Linked DNA regions of Homo sapiens: region 2 is linked to region 1. The links are contacts of gene promoters, found by promoter capture Hi-C in human tissues and cell types (Jung and others, 2019). All regions are on one chromosome and are shown on one strand. The core of a region is centred on a gene start or on the middle of the fragment in contact, and the rest is flanking DNA. Distances in the headings are between cores, read along the strand shown. Region 1 holds the start of RIPPLY1 (ripply transcriptional repressor 1). Region 2 overlaps MORC4 (MORC family CW-type zinc finger 4).

Region 1 (2,893 bases), core at 377-2,876:
GAAAAACAAGCAGACAGAGTCCTGCGGGTTGTTTGCTTCCCTGCCTCTGTTCCAGCACCTGTTTGGAGGCTCTCCAGGGGACAGTGTTCTACTGGAGCAGCAAAGATTCAGGGAGATCGGGTGGGTGGGAGAGCACTGGAGTAAGGTGCCAGGAGACGAGGCCTCAAGCACCAGCACTGCCACACACTGGCTGTGGGGCCTGCCCAGATCCCTTGCCCACTCTGAGCTTTGGTCTCCTCATCTTTCCAATTGCCACAGAAAGCTTGGATCTGCTCTCTGTTGGAATCAAATGTTGGCAAAACTGTGAGGATGCTATCTCAGATCTGCACCTTTGGACTGAGGTCAGGGGCTCTCTGGGAAGTGACCTGGTCACTGTTAATGCATGTGGCTGCATGTGAACACACGTCACAAGGGCTCGAACTCACCAAATCCACCAGCTTCCTCATCTGCCTTGGGGAGTCATTTGTGGAAGACAGCCAGGGCCTCCAGAGACAAGTTCCTCTGGGACAAAGAGGAGAGATCAATCCGTAGAGGAAGAGACTGAAAGGTGGGCTCCCTGAGATAACAAGAGACCTCCCAAAAGCTTGGCTCAGGTGCCATCTGCTCCAGGAAGCCTTTCCTAAGGCTCCTGAGCCCATTCCAGGACAGATGTCCCTCCTCTCGGCTTCAGCAATGTTATTATTGCTTTTATCATGCTGTTTTGTAATTGTCTATTTACTTGTCTTTGGGCTTCTTAAGCTCAAAGATATGCTCAATCGTATCTGAATCCTCAACACCTAGTACAATGTCTGGTACACAGTAGCTGTTTCAGTAAATGTTTGTTGAAGACTAAATGTTTGGAGTAATGAGTGGGGGCTAGATGGAAAATATCTTGCCTCCTACTTCCTGCTCCAAGATGTAGAACTCAGAGCTCTACCATCTTCCTGGGCTGAAGAAGAGGGCCAGAAATGTTCCTGGGTCCACTGCTTCCCCACTGGACTTGCAGAGGTAGGAAAAAAGCAAATGGAAATCTTATGGCGTGGTCAGGAAAAAGACAATGTCCCAGTCAAGGGCCTCTTTAGACTTTGGTCCTCTTTCCCCAAACTCCCCACCCCCACAGTCTAGATTGTGTTAAGCCCAGGTTTCATGGCAGTTCCCCATCCCCCTCAGGGGACTCAGCCACCTGGCCTATGAGGACCTGGCTGCTTCACCTTCAGCTTTGGCAACAGCTGTCCCCAAGTCCCCTCTTGCCACCCAGCGGGATTAGTGAGGTGAAAAGTCAGATGAGATATTCCAGCTAGAGTTGAGGAGGGAGGGCTATGAGGCCATTGCTTTTCCCCTTCACAGAGAACAGGGTGCCCTGGACATCTCATTTTCCTTCCTCTCTCAGGAAGCTCTCAAGCCTAAGTTCAGGTTGCCAAAGGCTAAGCTCAACTTACCTTTCACTCCCATTTACTTCTTGTCCAGAGGAGAGAAGGCAAGATGGGCTTAACAGGCCAGGGAGTGCCAGTGGGGCTTGTGCTAGGTCTGGAGCTAGGGCCAAAGCCAGGGCTGGAACAGGGGTGGCAGCAGCAGCACAGGCAGCAGAGTCCATTCTTAGGGGACCAAAGCCAGTGGGGTCTCCTACTTCCCAGAACCTTCTGCACTCTTTTGGCTTTTCCTGGGAGACCCTTTTATAAGCCCTGCCTGGTCTTATAAATTATTCAGGGAGGACAGGGGTGGGATGACTTGGGAGGGGGATAAAGATTTAGGGAAGGGGCTCAGGGAGGGAAAGCTGGGTTACCTGGGTGTGAAATCTCTCCCAGTTGAATAAACATGGTGTCAGTGGGAGGTGAGGGATTTGCTTTGCCTCCAAGTCAGAAAGAAAAACACAGAAGGGGCAAATCGCACACCATTTGTGTGAATTCCCCAGGGAGTAGCAAGGCCTGAGAGGGGAAGGAGAGGAGCTCATTAGCACTCTGAAACCACAGAGATGTCAGGGACAGAGGGCTGAATAGACAGGCCTTTAACTAAGCCAGTTCCTGGCAAGAAGAGACAGCTGACCCCTTTAAGGAGAGTGAGGGACTCACTTGTTATTTCAGCTCAACCTCAGATAGATTTGCCAGGTGGACCTGAATGTAGGGTGACTGCCATTAAGCATATCATCTGGGTTAGGGAAAAAAGGGGCATTCTGGGCAGAGCAGGCCCAGATGCTTGTTGGGTAAACCTTAAGTCTTCTTTCAATGCCCCTCAGCCCCTTACTGATCAGTTCATTTGTCAAAGTGCCCCCTCCAGCCTCAGCAGTAAGTGGTCCAGTGAAGGAGAGCAGGCAGGATTTCACAGGGCCTCTGGGTGAGATTCCAAACCTCAGAGCTTAGCTTCCAGTTCAGAAGCCAGGGTGCTGGGGAGAGGCAAAGTTCTGCCCGACTACAGAGCTGCCGAAGGACCAGCCCCAGCCCCAGGCCTCAGTTCCCTCATGTAAGAGATGAGGGTGCTGGCCCAGTGGTCTCATAGGACCATGCCAGCCTGAACACTCTCTGACAGGGGCTACATAAATGGGTACTGAACCCGGGCAAGCCCAGAGGCCTGAGCACAGTCCTCGGCCTTAGCCAGCCTTCTGGGCCTTTGCCAGAAAGCTTCTAGTTACAACTACTGGCAGGGACCTTATGCTTCAGAGGTCTCGAAAATATTCCTCCTGACCTCAGTGTCCAGCCCCAGCACAGATTTAGCTTCTTGGATGTTCATCACAGTCTGGTTTGTAATGGTCAAAAATTAGAAACAACTTCAATGTCCAATAATAGGAAACCAGTTACATTAATTAGGGCAAATCCTTGCAACTGAATGCCAAGCAGGTGCTCACAATCATGTTCTGGGAAGTATAATTTTTCAACACAGAAAATGGAAAAAAAAATCAGATGGTAAGATAGCATGACTA
Region 2 (2,801 bases), core at 180-2,679, 49 kb after region 1:
AGCTCTAGACAATGAGCTAGGGGATGAGGGAGCCCCCATCTTCTAGACCACACCCACATGGATTAGAATTCCTTTGAGTAGTTTTCATAAAATAGAGCTTGGAGTGGGACAGCTTGTGGTTCAAATGCCACTGACTCTTGCTGTTCTTCCTGAGATTTAGAAGATTTCTTGAATATTTCTCCCTTTGCTGTGTGCCCCTAGGACACTATCCAGAAACACTGATTTTTTTTAAATATATTTTTTCAAGTTAAACAGTTATTTATTGGTGACAGAGTCCACTATGCTCCTCATTTCTCCATTCTGGAAGTTGCTTCCCTAGATCATATTTTTAAATGTTAATACTGGCCCCTGAATCAATCTTATTCATTTGCAAAATTGTTCATCTATTTCTACCCCTTGTTTGTTATTTCAAGTATTCCTTTAGACACAGTAGAATGTCTCTACTTCTCTCCCTCCACTGTTAACAGTGCAATTCAGAATTTGTTAACCTTTAAAAATATGAACTAATTAGCCTTTGACATATAGCTTACTCAAATCTAAATATCTAAATAAATTACAGCCACTAATTCTTGCCTTCATTCAAATGCTTACGGTTACTTTAGATCTTTCTTTTTTTTTGAGACAGGGTCTTGCTCTGTTGCCCAGACTAGAGCACAGTTGCGCAATCACAGCTGGCTCACTGCAGCCTATGCTCAAGCGATCCTCCCACCTCAGCCTCCAGAGTAGCTGGGACCACAGGCGCACGTCACCACACCTGGCTAATTTTTTATTATTTGTAGAGAAGAGGTCTCACTGTGTTGCCCAGGCTAGTCTCGAACTCCTGGGCTCAAGCAACCCTCCTGTCTCAGCCTCCCAAGTGCTGGTATAAGAGGCGTGAGGTACTGCACCCGGCCACTTTAAATCTTATTTTGTATCACTCATAAGAGAACTATACATATTTAGCCAGGCGCAGTGGCTCACACCTGTAATCCCAGCACTTTGGGAGGCCAAGGCGGGTGGATCACGAGGTCAGGAGTTTGAAACCAGCCTGACCAACATGGTGAAACCCTGTCTCTACTAAAAATACAAAAATTAGCCGGGCGTGGTGGCACGCGCCTGTAATCCCAGCTACTCAGGAGGCTGAGGCAGGATAATCGCTTGAACTCGGGAGGTGGAGGTTGCAGTGAGCCGAGATTGCGCCACTGCACTCCAGCCTGGGTGACAGAGCGAGACTCTGCCGCAAAAAAAAAAAAAAAAAAAAAAAAAAAAAAGGAAAGAAAACTATATGCACTTTATATGTAAATATTGGGGATACTTACATATCAAATTTTGACTACTCAAACCTCCTTCATCTTTGATCTTGTCACTACCCTAGAACAGGGCCTTTCATAAAGTAGGCACTCAAATACAGTCGTGCATTACTTAATGATGGGCATACGCTCTGAGAAATCCATTGTTAGACAATTTCCTCATCGTGCAAACATCATAGAGTATCCTTACACAAACCCAGATGGTATAGCCTACTATACACCTAGGCAATAGCCTATTGCTCCTAGGCTATAAACCTGTACAGCATGTGACTGTAGTGAATACTATAGGCAACTGTAACAAAATGGTAAGTATTTGCATATCAAATATATCTAAATATACAAAAGGTACAGTAAAAATACAGTATTGTAAGTTTATGGGATAACTGTTGTGTATGTGTTCTGTTATTGACCAAGATGTCATTATGCGGCACGATTATACATGTAGGATGAACAAATAGAAAGGGATTATTTCCTTTAACAGAAATAAGCTGTCTTCCCCAAAAAGGTTATACCTGCTTACATACTGGTGGAACCTATTCTTTATTGCAGGTCCTCTCCTCCCCTTGCTAGATTTGTGGGACTCACAAAGCTGTTTCCAGTGACACCTGTGGCGCCCCTGCTAAACTACCCACTAGAACTTAAAAGTTTTCTTGGATACTGTAGGCTTTATTTTATCTGGAGTTAGTAAGCTGAACTACATGACCCAAGGACCCTTATCAGCTTCCTATGCTGATAATAACAGAAGACCTTTGTAACTCTTGATTAAACCTTAATGTTTTATCAGAAATCCTATATATTTTACTAGACTCTTGAGTAACTCCATTTTCCCCCATTAAAAGGTAGTCTCAGCCCAATCAATGTGATTCCCTCGAAAAGTGTAACTTGAAATGACACAATCATCATTTACTGATCTTATGTAACATATATGACATTAGCAACAGCAACTATCACATACCTCTTATGTTTCTCTTTCTCTTGAAATAATTTTATTCTCAATAAATTAAAATTACATATGAATGGTCAATGTACTTTACCTGTCCTCTACAGCCAAAACCTCACTCTCGATATAGCAATCCATAAAGACTCATACAAAAATTCCAATAGAGACTGATGAAGTATGCCACCCAATGGAAGTTCTATTGTACTGCATTCATAAAATAAGTATATAAATTAGCATTTGTAATCCCCTTGAGGTTACCAAAAACCACTACAGGGTTATAAAAGAAACACTGGAAAAAAAGGAAAAGTGGTCATAGTAAGGAAGGGACAGTCTTCAAAAGCAAAGACACCTGACACTCCAGCAGCAATGGTGATATATGAGCATCTCCAGGAGACCAGGGTAAAAAGGTAACAATGTGCTTCAAAAACACTTAGCATTTACAGTGCACCCCTCCCAACCTAAAATGGGAGTTGGAAAAGTATGCATGGAAACGGTGTAATTAGGCTCAAGCTCCTGAGACTAAGGCTGGATTCTATTTCTTATCCCGTTGCTACAAAATTCAATCTTAGAAA

Evidence for each region. Contacts are between HindIII fragments. The study calls those that stand out against the background at their distance.
Region 2: a contact is called between a fragment that was not itself captured here and the fragment with the promoter of RIPPLY1 in region 1, in 1 of the 25 tissues and cell types used here (adrenal gland).

What each region holds. Positions count from the first base shown.
Region 1 is chrX:106,901,715-106,904,607 of GRCh38, forward strand. It overlaps RIPPLY1 (ripply transcriptional repressor 1), which reads right to left and starts at 1,627. Exons shown (of 4, transcript NM_138382.3): 1 at 1,419-1,627; 2 at 426-501. The coding sequence starts at 1,573. It also overlaps a transcript of CLDN2 not described here. The HindIII fragment of the contact is 3,191 bases long and covers 423-2,893 here.
Region 2 is chrX:106,950,776-106,953,576 of GRCh38, forward strand. The region is part of intron 14 of MORC4 (MORC family CW-type zinc finger 4); the gene reads right to left. Among named protein-coding and RNA genes, the nearest start is that of CLDN2, 32 kb to the left of the region's middle. The HindIII fragment of the contact is 4,923 bases long and covers 1-2,801 here.